2 separate regions of the Homo sapiens genome follow, and region 1 is linked to region 2. Evidence: promoter capture Hi-C in human tissues and cell types (Jung and others, 2019). All regions are on one chromosome and are shown on one strand. Each heading gives the region's core, a stretch centred on a gene start or on the middle of the fragment in contact. The rest is flanking DNA. Distances are from core to core; before and after follow the strand shown.

What was found. Contacts are between HindIII fragments. The study calls those that stand out against the background at their distance.
Region 1: a contact is called between a fragment that was not itself captured here and the fragment with the promoter of SNRK in region 2, in 1 of the 25 tissues and cell types used here (hippocampus).

What each region holds. Positions count from the first base shown.
Region 1 is chr3:44,323,854-44,330,267 of GRCh38, forward strand. It overlaps TOPAZ1 (testis and ovary specific TOPAZ 1), which reads left to right. Exons shown (of 20, transcript NM_001145030.2): 19 at 4,397-4,580. LOC105377055 (a long non-coding RNA gene) reads right to left here. Exons shown (of 4, transcript XR_940782.4): 4 at 838-2,907. Among named protein-coding and RNA genes, the nearest start is that of TCAIM, 12 kb to the right of the region's middle. The HindIII fragment of the contact is 6,671 bases long and covers 1-5,628 here.
Region 2 is chr3:43,284,798-43,291,491 of GRCh38, forward strand. SNRK (SNF related kinase) reads left to right here and starts at 1,743. Exons shown (of 7, transcript NM_017719.5): 1 at 1,743-1,878. RefSeq lists an enhancer at 1,483-1,983 and silencers at 1,588-1,987, 2,228-2,277, 4,689-4,916. The HindIII fragment of the contact is 11,190 bases long and covers 1-6,694 here.

The DNA.
Region 1 (6,414 bases), core at 1,043-3,542, 1.0 Mb after region 2:
AAGCCACCTCGCAGGTATTTTAATTAGAAAGTAATTCCATGTACGTTCTAGATCTAGAAAAGCATTGTTTTTTCTGCCTTCATGCAGTAATTTGTCTTCAGCTACCATTTCTACCACTATCATGTATATAACAAATATTTGAGTGCCTACTCTGTGTCACCCCGTACCAAATGTGTCAAATATCCTAGCCACTACTACCTGAGCTGGAAGTGTTTTTCAGGTGGCCAGCTGTGATCAATGCAGCAGGTGGTAACTTTTTTTCCCCAACAAAATGGGAAAGAAAATACTAGGGTACATTACAGGTAGTAAGTTTAATTATTTGATAAAATTTTCATTTCAGTTGCATATATGCACGTATGTATACTGGGTCATTATGCAAAATGTGTTTCTTGTAGGTTATAATCAAAAGAAGTTTTGAAAGCTGAGTTTTCTTAAAAAGGGTGATCAGAAATTTAGAGGAAAGATAGAATTGTTTGTTCATAACACCTAATTTCAATTGTGTGGTTATGTTTCAACTCTTTATACTATTTACCTTCAGACTTCTAGAAACCATACACACACACATATATGTGTGTGTGTGATTTTAGTTTCTAGAATTGAAGTTAATGGGAATAATTTCATATAACTGTGCAACTGGGGGGAGATGCCATCAAAAGGTGTTTATATGCCACAGGAACAAATATAAGCTCAGACATTTAAATGAGATTTTTATAAATATTTCTATTTTTTAGTTGGAAATAAAATTTTATATTAAAGCATCTAGACTTAATCATTTACTTTAAAAATTTTTAACAACTTTATAGAAGTATAATTCAAATGCCATACAAGTCACCCATTTAAAGTATACAAGTCAGTGGTTTTACTATATCTACAGAGTTGTGTAACCATCACCATAATCAACTTTAGAATATTTTATTCATACCAGAAAGAAACCTCATATGCATTAGCAGTCACTCCTCATTCCTCCAAATCAATTCAGCCCTAGTAAGAATTACTTTTAAAGATTTTTTTAGCAGTGTGTTAAAGCAATTAATGCCTGTGTACAATACAGTACCTTTGTTATTGGAACTTTTCCTTTTATCTAATCACATATTCCTTATTTCATATGCAGTGTAACTTCTGAGACTTATGCAAGTGAGGTTACGGGATAAAGAGTATTTTTGTTTTTTAAGGAATGTACTTGAATTATAAAACCATGAATAAAAATGAGTAATTTACAGCCAAGTGAGTAATTTATAGCCACTGATCAGTCTTCAAAACATCTCATTTTCTAACAACATTGACATTAAAATTATATTGGAACTCCTTTTGGATTTATTTTCAGACATAGCTTAACCCTTGCAAGAAGAGCCTTTCAATGGTATATAATCGTGTCTAGTAGTACTTTATTTGGGACTTAACGCTGACTTTCTTCAAGGCACTGTTAAGACTTGGTGCCAGTGCCTTTGTTTTGACTTTTTTTAAACTTTTTTTGTTTTAATATTTTTATGGCTTTATTGAGATAATTTCACATATCATGAAATTAGTTCACTTAAAGTATATAATGCATTCATTTTTGGTATAGTCACAGAGTCATGCAGCCATCACCACCATTTAAGTTTAGAACATCTTCAACACCTCCAGAAAAAGAAACCTTGTACACATTAGCATTTATTCTCCATTCCCTGGTTGTCTCCTCTTCCACCCTAGTCCTAGGCAACAACTAATTTATTCTCTGTCTCCATGAATTTGCCCATTCTAGACAGATCACATAAATGGAATCATTTAATACATGTGTTTTAGTGACTGGCTTTTTTTTTTTTTTCTTGGAGACGGAGTCTCCCTCTGTCACCTAGGCTGGAGTACAGTGGCGCAATCTCGGCTCACTGCAACCTCCACCTCCCAGGTTCAAGTGATTCTCCTGCCTCAGCCTCCTGAGTAGCTGGGATTACAGGCACATATCACCATGCGCAGCTAATTTTGTATTTTTAGTAGAGATGGGGTTTCACCATGTTAGCCAGGCTGGTCTTGAACTCCCAGCCTCAGGTCATCCATCCACCTCGGCCTCCCAAAATGCTGCGATTACATGCGTGAGCCACTGCACCCAGCCATGACTGGCTTCTTATACTTAGCCTAGTGTTTTCAAATTTCAGTGTTGTAGCATGTATCAATACTTTGTTCCTTTTTATTGCTAAACAATATTCTATAAAATGGAATCTGTTTATTCATTGGTTGATGGACATTTGAGTTGTTTTCACTTTTTGGCTATTGTGAATAGTGCTACTTTGAATATTCACATAAGTTTTTATGTGTATATATGCATTCATTTCTCTTGGGAGAATTGCTGACTCATACAGTAAATCTATATTTAGCTTTTTGCCAAACTGCCAAACTGTTTCCTGAAGAAGCTGCATCATTTTATATTTATATTCCCACCAGCCGTGTACGGGATTTCCTGTTTCTTTATATCTTCACCAACACTTGTTACTGTGTTTTTTATTTTAGCTTTCCTCCTAGTGGGTGTTAAGTAATGTATCATTACAGTTTTGGTTTTCATATCCCTAATAACTAATGATGTTGAGGACCTTTTCATACAGTTATTGGTCATTCGTATATTTTCTTTTGAGAATGCCTATTAAATCTTTTGCCCTTTTTTTTTGATTGGGTTTTTTTGGTTGTAAGAGTATTCATACATACATACACATGTACATATGCATTTATATACACTCTGGATACAAATCCCTTGTCAGATATATGAATTACAAATATTTTGTCCATCCTGTGAGTTTTCTGTTACTTTCTTGATGGCTTTCCCTTGCTTTCATGCCAGACTAATCAGGAGGAGGTTGTCCAGGGACAGCAGAGTTTCCTTTCTCACGCTCCTGATTTGTTCTCCTTTGTCCTAAAAATACTGCTTTTCTCTCAGAACTGAGAAGTCAAGAGAGAGATGTTATTAGTGTATCTTTCCATTACTTTCTCCCCAAAATCAAATGTGAGTATTTTTCTTCTCACGTTTCATTTTGAGTGAAAAAAAAAATCGTATTAGTAGATTTCTAGTTAATTTTTTATTTTCTGCTTTTTAATTCTGGTAAGAAAAGTTAAATAAGAATGCATGTAAATTATACCTACCAAAAACTAGTAAAGTTAATGAGTTAACAGTTTGTTGCTCCTGGCAGTGACCTAGGGAGGTGGGAATACCTAGTGGTTAGGAATCCAAAATCTGGAGCCAGAAAGTGGGCACCCCATGCAAGCTTAGAGAGCCTGAGTGCTTACCAAAAGCCCCTCGTCTATAACATGGAAGTAATTGTACCTAATTTCAAAGGTAGCATTTTGTCAAGTTAAAATGAGGTAAAACCCATGTGTTTGTTAGCACATGTACATGGCACATAGCAGGTCTTCAAAGATTAGCCATTACCCATATTAGAAAGATTTCTTGAAGAAACTCATCCTAACAAAACAAAACATTCTAAGCAAAATTTACATACATATTTAAATTGGTTTCAGTAAAATATAATAATATAAAATTGCCTATATATAGTTTGGATGTTCTAGAAGTTTTATAGGTATTTCCCTATATATCTCTCCTAATAAGCACCTAAACAATTTAAAAGTTAAATCTCTTCTCTTGAAAAGTGAAGTTTTAAAAACATGAATTGGTGAATGTAGCTACAACACACAGATCACCTACAGGATGGAAATGTATTTTATGCCTAGTACTTAGCACAATGCCAGACATTTAGTAGCAACAGTAAATATTGCATAAACTATAATGGTACTATAAATAACTGTGCTCAAAAATAGTTATTCTGAAATTGTCTTGTGTTTACTGTGGCTTGAAATAAATGTCATTTGCCATGATAAGGCCCAAAAGTCATTTTTCAGAGTGTTTTTTTTTTAATGTTTCTCACTTTTTTTGTTTTTGTTTTTGTTGAGATGGAGTCTCACACTGTCGCCTAGGCTGGAGTACAGTGGCACAATCTCGGCTCACTGCAGCCTCTGCCTCCCAGGTTCAAGTGATTCTCCTGACTCAGCCTCCCGAGTTGCTGGGACGACAGGCACCCGCCACCACACCCAACTAATTTTTGTATTTTAGTAGGGATGGGGTTTCACCATGTTGGCCAGGCTGGTCTCAAACTACTGACCTCAAGAGATCCACCCGCCTCAGCCTCCCAAAGTGCTGGGATTACAGGCATGAGTCACCACACCCAGCCCTTCTCACTTTTTATTTAATGTTTCAAAAGCACTTTACAAAGAATAATGCCAAATATACTAGGATAAGCTATCATGTAATTTGTTAATCTACTTCTAATGTGAAGACTTATTCTGTGTAAGTAATTATCGCCTGTAGGTATTTCAGAAATCTAGGTTTTTACCTATTGGGTTTTAGTAAAGTTTGACCTATTATTTGATTTTTCAGGTGCTCTTTCCTTGGGTTGCTACCCACCATTGGAAGGAAATTTATACCGAAAACTTCTTCTAATTCCATCTTATTTATCTGAGATTGAAATGCTCTTAGCTATTGAAATCTTCATGGTATCTAATGCTAGTAGTATTCAGAGTCCTGGAACTTCTACACAGATACTGCAGATAGTTTTGAAAAGGTTGGTTGACATAACTTTAACTGCATTCTGAATGTAGATCATGACTCCCCACACCCACCCTAAGATGTAAATGTTTTATGTGTTTTTATACATACATATATATTTATGTATATATTTATATATGTACTTTATGTGTGTGTATTGCAAACTCTGATATCATTTAAACTAAGAAAGGATTAGACCTGTTTGAGGCTTAAAACCAAACAAGTTAGTAGCATTCGGTAAACACTTTAGCAACTTCAGAGATATAGTTAGATGTTCAAAGAGACGGATCCTCTTTAGGTACCAACCTTTCTTGTGTTTAGAGATCAGTACCTATAAAAATCTTTATCTCTAGTCAACTCAAAAGATCAAAGGACTAGGGTCTAAAAGGGAAATACGTGATCAGCCAAGAATACCATTGAAAATAAAGCCATCAGCCTAGTTTCTATATTTTATAATGCTATATATGCATAAATATTATAAAGTAGGTACTGTACCAGAGTGACACCCTTTCACGTAATTTTGTTTAGAATCCTAGAATTTAGGCATACAGTAGATGGTGTGCCTAAATCGTGGTATGCCATACGATTTCTTGTCAGCTTTATCCAGGAAACTTGCAATATAAGGATCTCCTGGGAATCCTGTTTTAGAGCTTCTTGACAAGAATTTTGCTTCAGTTTACTGGTGTGACAAACCAGATCCTCTGGTTGAATATTACATTAGTTATCTGTTGCTATAGAATAAATTATCCCTGGACCTAATGGCTTAAAACAGAAAATAGTATCTTAATATCTGTGGGTCAGAAATTTCAGAGAGGTTTAGCTGGATGGTCCTGGCTCGGGAATTTTCATGTGACTCAGTTTTTCCACATAGTTGGAGTCAAGATGTTGTCAGAAACTTTAGTCACCTACGTGATAGCTTGCTGGAGCTAGAGGATCCTTTTGCTAGATGGCTCACTCAAATACCTGTTGGGTGGAAGCCTCATTTCACCACATGGGCCTCTCCATAGGTTGGTTAAGTGTCTTCATGACATGACTGACAGCTAATTTCTCCCAGAATGAGTGATCCAAGAAAGAAAAAGCAAGGAGGAAGCTGCAGGGTCTTTTGTGACCTATATCAAGCAAGAACTGTGAAGAGTCTGAGATTTTACCCTATTGCAAGCTACAAGCTAACCTGCCACAGTTTCATAGATGGTAGCATAAGACACAAGACTCCTGTGTCGGAGACAGAGGACTTCATTATTTGTGGTACACCAAACAGCATGATTATCTACGTATTTGCATCATTTCCTCTTGCTCCTAAGTCCCATAGATGGGCCTACATGGATACCTACATATGCCATGAGTTCTGTAACAGGAGAGGAGTACCCAGCTTAGGAAACCCAAATATTTTATGAGTAACAGGCATGCCTGCCCTTTGCTTTGCAGGGAGGTACTGTCTCCATCATCTAAGACTGTGAGCAAACCTGCCCTTTGCTCCAGAAGAAGAAACTATCTTTATCTTTCAAGGTTGTTCACTGTATAATCCTTGTAATTTAGAACAAAGGGTAGGCAGTGACTCTTGCAAAACTTCACAAACTCAAGAGACCCATGGAGAGTTGTCATCCAACAGCCTACTATCCAAAGTTACATACTGTCACTTCTGTTCTCCTTTTTTGTAGATGAGTCTTTTGATCCAGTCCACACTTAAGGGGAGGAGAATTAGGAAGTAAATTATTTTAGTTCCACCTTCAAAAAAACCCACTAAAATTCACCTTTTTTCTTATAGTTCTTTTTTTCAGAGGGCTTCCTTATTTACCACTGTGCACTATGGTGGATAAGGCATCTAGGCTCCCCATCATCCTAATGAGGTC
Region 2 (6,694 bases), core at 493-2,992:
TGCGTCCTTCTCTAGAAGAGTATTGCAGCCAACTTCATTTAAATCAATTTATTATTTTGCCCTTTTTCATTTGTTTTGCTCTTTTATGCCTTGTTTTCCTTAGAAAATTTATTCAAAACCTAGTTAAACAGCAGCAATATAAATACTTTATTTTTCAAGAGCTTATATATTATCGTCATTGTTCTGTAGTTACTGATATAACTCAGGGACTACAGACCCAGGGGTGGAGGCCTTCGACCACTGGAAATCCCTTGGGAGACCATTACAGTGGTATTTTCTCCCTTTAGTTGGCTACAGAGTTCCCTGAATAGTGATATCTCCCTGAGGAGAAAAGTGCATGGTCTTCCTGATTTCTAGCAACAAAAGGACAAATTCTACAAATCCAAGTTAGGAGCTCTTGCTTAATATGCTGCTACAGTTACGATTTCCATGTCAAAATGAGATGACTCTTTTATGGTCTTTTCAGGTCAGAGTGATCCCAGGTGGGACCCTAAGGCGCAGAGGCCTAATCTGAGGCTTTCCCTGGTGCTCTCCCACCACCTGATGCAAGGGTATTAGGGTAACTGGGAGTCCCCTTGATCAGAAAACCCTATGTTATTACCCTAAGAATCAAACTGTTTGCACCTCCCAACAATCCACTCCTGCTTCCCAATCATCTTCAGACATGCAAAGTTGATGCATAGAAGCTAAAAGGCTTTTGACATTTGCAGGTCAACAGAGATTTGCTAAAACCATCTAGATTTCTCTTCGCAGTCCAGTCAATTCAACCAAGCCTGCAGCATCTCCGCAGCTCTTCTGGCTTGTGTCCTTCCTTGCTAGGGGTCCTTTCTTGGGGAAGGGTGGACACAACGTGGGAACAGAAGGGGAAAAGCAGGTTGAAGAAATCTGGCGTCTGGTTTGTTGGTGTTCCCTTCCAGGAACCCTGAAGAGCTGGTCTCTATTGCATGCCATGCTTCCAGGGGTGGGAGTCGGGAGTCCCCTCCCACCCTCTGCGGCCATCCCTAAGCTCCCTTCCAGAGCAACCTGGCCTGGCGACCATACCACTGAACCATCAAGGGCTATGGTTAATGCCCGGCGTGTTTTGAATCTCTGACTTCACGTGCTTTGATGTGTCCCCACGACCGTTTACTTTTCTATGCTGTTGCCAGAGGCTGCCTAGCAGGGCCTGTGTCTCCCGCTGACCTTTAAGGCCAGCACTGCATTCAGATGTTGGGCTTTTCCAATTTTGCTTAAATAACAACAAAATCAACCGAATTTTTTCAAATTAGAGTCCCAGGGAGAAGAAACTACAGAGAAAAAAATCATATTATGTATATATATGTATATACATATGTGCATGTGTGTATGTATATGTATTTTTACAATTTTTTTATCCTTGTTTAAACCTGGGCGGGAACCAAAGAGTAAAGCGCGTGCGGCTCCCTGCCCCCTGCCGCCAAGACGCAGTCCTGTACAGACGCGGTCCCTTCCCTCCGATTTCCCCTGACAGCTCGCGCTACTTTTTCCCGGCCATTGTTCCGTGTCCCTGGTGCTTCCTCCTCCCCCGTCCTCCATCCTCCTTGGGCGCCTTGCCCGCTTTGTCCCGCCAGCCGCCTCAGCCCCGACTCGCCGGGGTCAGAAAGCCGCCAGGATGCCCTCCAGCAGCCCGCGCGCCGGCCGCAGGTGCGCGCCGCCCCGCCCTGCCCTTCCCGCGGCCCCGCCCCAGCGCTGACGTCACAGTGACGCGCAGCCCGCGCAGGCGCAGCTACCCGGCACCCCCTCCCCGCGGCCGGCAGCCCGCTCGGTATTATGATTAGCGCTGGGTGCGGGGTTTCGGCGGCCGGGAGGGAGTTGTCGGCGCCGCGGCCGCTGCGGACGGACGCTCGCCTGCCGGCTGAGGTAGGGGCGAGCGCGGAGCGCGGCGGGGCGCGGCGGCCGTAGGCAGGGGTGCGGGGCCGGCCTCCGCCGCCTCAGTAGCCTCCGCTGTTGCCGGGCTGGGCGCCCGGGCCGGGGCGCTCGCCGCAGGCGGAAAGTAAGTTGCGCTCTCGGCGCCGGCCGCAGCGCGCGGCCCGGGAGGACGCGGGGCCCGGGCTGCGGTGGCCCGGACCCCGCGGCGCGGCCTGGCGGCGGGGCGGCGGCGGGGCCCGGCGGGAGCCGTCACTGCGGCGGCGGCCGCGGTCGCCTGGAGGCCCTGCCCTTGCGGCCGCGGCGGGATTGCGGCACCTCGGAAGGCGCCCGCATCCCCGCGCCCCGCCCCGGAGCGGGCCGAGTGCGGCGCCCGCGGGGCCCCGCGCCCTGGGCGCTTGGTAGGGTGTGTGTTCTTTGAATGCGTTTTCCCCTTTCAGAAGACTGTAGAAATCCGGCCTCAGCAAAAGGGTTCCGTGGTCAAACTGCTTTACAATAGAGTGGGGATGTTGTCTGTAGAGAAAGGGCAAAGGGGTAAGGAAAGAGGAGCAGTGCCATTCCCGAGGGAGAGCTAGAATTTTTGCAGACTGGGAGACTGGGAAATCTACGTTCTTTTCCATAGTCATCGCCTGTTGATTTCTTTCTGGTCCATTTTACAGGGACCTTCCTGCCTTTTACTTGGACTTGGGTTGCAGGAAAGTGGCAGCCTTTTATCTTCGGGGTTCTTGGAGCTGTGCTATTTGTAACTGTTGGATCGCATACAGTCCAGTAGTTTCATAGGGAGTTTCAGGCTTTGGGGAGAATTTAGCAGTGGAGTTCCTAAATCTATAGAGGTCTGAGGATATGGGACCTTTCAAACTGTCATGTTACTTTCCACCCCCCTTCCCTTTAATTATGTGCATTCTTAAAGTCTTAGGAACCGTGGTAAAGTTGACTTAATGCCTTAAACATTTTGTCAGGTTTTAAGGTGAAGCATGGCTTGCAAGTGTTGGACATCCTGTTGAATCTCCACCAAGTTCCTATCAAACATGAAATGCCTGAGTTTGGGCTCCTTGTATGGGATTGGAGCACTATGTCCCAAACCAGTCTTTAACTTATCAGAATATATACAGCAGTGTACTTTAAAGCCCGGGTTGTCAAGGCTTATGTAATCAGTTTGTTAATTTATAATCTCGTTACATTGCTTTCCAGATTTATAAAATAATTCCCTTAAGGAAATCTGTCCTCAACGTCTGCTTAAATATTTCTCTTGGAATTGGATTCTTGAAGAGGAATGTACTGTACAAGTGATGATTAAAGCATACTAATTAGACAAGTTTCTTTTTTTAAAGAACACCAAATACCAAATTTTTAATCTGATTATCTGTGTAATTGTCCTTGAGAGGAGAACAGGTGGACATTCCCATTTTACAGAACTAGAAATGAGAGAAATTACATGACATTTCCAAGGTCACATATTGAAGCAGTGTAGAAAGTCAGGTGCACAGTGCTAACTTTTTATAATACTCTCATCCTGAAGGCTTTTCAGGCAGGAAACTTTCAGTGCCACCTTTCAATTTTTTTTTAAATTTGTATAATCAGTTTTTAATTGTTCATTTTGTGCACAAAAATTACTCTCACCGTATTTTTTAATAATTCTGAGTATTTTTTTCTGTTTTACTGCAGTAAGATCCATTAGTCTAAAACATGCTAGAACTCAGAAGTTGTACTAATTTTATTTTTCTAGACCAGAAGTATAGGTTGGGTCTTTATGGTTTAGATTTAATCACATAATCCTAAAAGAAAGGCTTTTAAATGTCCTTATTAAAATTGAAGGGCTTTCGTGATATTTTTACTGGTCACAGGAAATACTGTTCATCTGAACTTCACTGTGAGTACTTCCCTCATACAGAAAGTGAAACCAAATAGAAAAATATTTATTTCTGGAGATACTGAGCAGCCATGGTTCTAAGTACTGGTATAAATAAGACATGATTTCTTCCCTGTAGCAGCTTGTCTAATCCTAAGAGCTCTTTACACTGCCCAAGAAGAAAAGGGTACAAATGAACTTTCCATAGGCCAGAATCTTAGGAATTAAAAACCGTAGATGAGAAACTCTAGACTTAATGTAACTGCATCCCAGCTGTTTGCTTAAAGATAGAGTGTTTATAACTAAGATGCTTTAGTAAGAAAACTGTTATTCAGAATTTAGGTATTTCCCAGTGTGTATCTATGTGCAGGTAAACTTAGAACAACTTAGGTGGAAAAATTGAGTGGATCCTAGCAGTTCTGAAGATAAACTTAACCTTTGATCATTTATTCATGGAATGTTTGTGTGTCTCTTTTGGTGGCCCTAGGGTAGAGGGAGGGCAGCAGTAGAAAAGTGAATAAAAACCAGTTCCTGACTGTAGGTTCTTAGAAGCTACTGGGGAACACCAAGGTAAACAGTAACAGTACGAACAGATGAACTGTGGTGAGGCATAGGGAAAAACCTGCAGAAGCACAAGGATGGCGGCAGTGAACAACCTGACATGGAAATGCTTCACAGAGGAGGTGATGGTTAAACTGGTCTTGAAGAATAGGAAGAATTCCCAGGCAGAGAAAAAGGGAAAAGGCTCAGGGGGTTCAGGGAGGGTGAGAAGACAAGGTCAAGTGGTGGGTGGGAGAAGAACATAGATCCAAGTGGGTGAAAGGGAGTTGAGAAGGCTGAGACAATGCAACTGTTCTTTCCTTAAAGCATTTGAAAAGGAAGGAGGGAAATGGGGCAGTTGCTTTGGGGGATGGAGGAGAAGGATTTTGGTGAGGTGTTTGTTTTGTTTTGTTTTAACTTTGGGAAGAGCTGGTATAAAATTCCTCAGATTTAATGGCCTCACGAGTGAGCACTGGAACTGTGTTGTCTGCTCTGGATAATCCAGAGCTACGTCATTGATCCTCATCTGCTTTTCTGCACATCTGCTTTGGGTTGTGGCTCTGTGTCTCATGGGAAACCATTTCTTGCTGGTGGTAGGGAAGGAACCTGTCTAAAGAGGATTCCTGCTTTGCCCTCCCTGAACATTTATTTCTCTGCTGTCACTTCCAGAGCCTCCTGAGAGTCTGCTTTGGCATCCCCAGCATTTGGCCTCTGCTCAGGTAGGCTGTTCCATGGCAAATCAGGCCTCTTTCCCTTTCCTTTTGCTATTATGCCCCCTAGTCTGCTGCCATGTGGCTACTCAAAAGTTACTTCAGACTCAGAGATCATTAGTTGTTCATCTAACATGTTTTAAGTTTTGGAGTATCTTCAGGCCCAAAGCAAGATTAGGTCTATCTGCACATCTAAACACATACCCTCTTGACTAATATTTGCCTGGACCGTTTAATGTAGGTTATGACAAAAATGCTCCAGGAACCTGGATTACACAACATAACGGTGGTCAAATCGCAGCCTCACTGGGCCTCAATTTCTTAATTGTTGACCTGCAGTTATCTCTCTTAAACCCATAATACTGTCAGCTCTTTGAAGGCAGAGACTACTTCTTTGATCTGTACATTATCAGACCCAAGTAATGCCGGGTACATAGTCTGTACCAAGAAGTGTCTTGGTGAAGAAGGTAAAAAAATCTAATCTTTAATTTGTTGATTTTATCAGCTTGTTATGGAAACCACACCCTTTCTAATAAAGCTGGGTTGGATTTGAATTGTTTTTCAATCATACAATTTTAGAACTAGAAGCAAATCCTCTACTTTCTGCTAGCATGTTGTAGATGTTCCTGTCCTGAAAGTCCAGTCTGAGAGAATGGCATCACCAGCTACCACTCTCCGCTAGAGTCATTCTGGATTTCTCCCTTTGCTTAGCCTCCTGTGCATTGAGTTCTTGGATTCTACTTCCAAAATGTGTCTCCTCCACAACATCCTTATCATCACTGCCCATATACCAGCTGCCCTCATTTTTAAGTCTTTAAGTAATTTACCTGGAGACATTTTCAGTTGTCTGCTTACCTGTCTTCTAGCTCTATTCTCGCCCTTTCAGTCTGATCTTCACTTTGCTGCCAGAGTAATTTGTTAAACCATCATCTCTGATTGCCATTCTCCTGCTCAGGATTTTTCTTGAGCTCTTGTTTTTGGCTCTTTATGCTAGCCTTCATTTGTTCATTTAATAAAATATATCTGTATATTTTGAGTAGATGCTATACTTGGCAGACCCTGGGATAAAGAACTAAATAAAATGAACATGATCCTTATGTGAACTGAGCCTGTCATTTAGTTTAGTGGGGGACACAGATTATTAACCACACAGTCACACAAATAATTATATGACCTCACATTTGTGATAAGGGTCATAATGGCAAAGGACACAGTGCTGTGAGTGAGTATAGGGAGCTGTATGTGCATGGAGTTGGGGAGGGCAAGGGGATGGTCAGGAAGTCGTCCTTTAAGCTGGGCCCTAGAGCATGGGTAAGGGCTAGCCTAGACCTAAGAAGTAGAAATTGATGAATTATATGGAATACATGCCTGACCTTGTCCCCTGCGCTCTGCATATATTGTTGTCTGAGTCATACTAAACTTCCTTGGGCCTCTTTCCTGAAAAGCCTCTTCCTTACCGTTGCCAGTTTCAGTTCTTAGCTCAAACACACAAAATTTATTTCTCCAGAATGCTGTCTGTGGCATTCTCCAAGGCAGATTTAGGAGAAAAGAACACCTCTTTTTGCGTATCTGTTCCCGTAAGAGACTGTGAATAAGTTGAGACAGAGACCTTCCTAGTATCCAGTACAGGTGTTTAGGGGCCAGTTTGTTGGGCCAATAGAGGATGAGGTTACTGATAAGAAAATGAGATGGAGAACTATATATACAACCC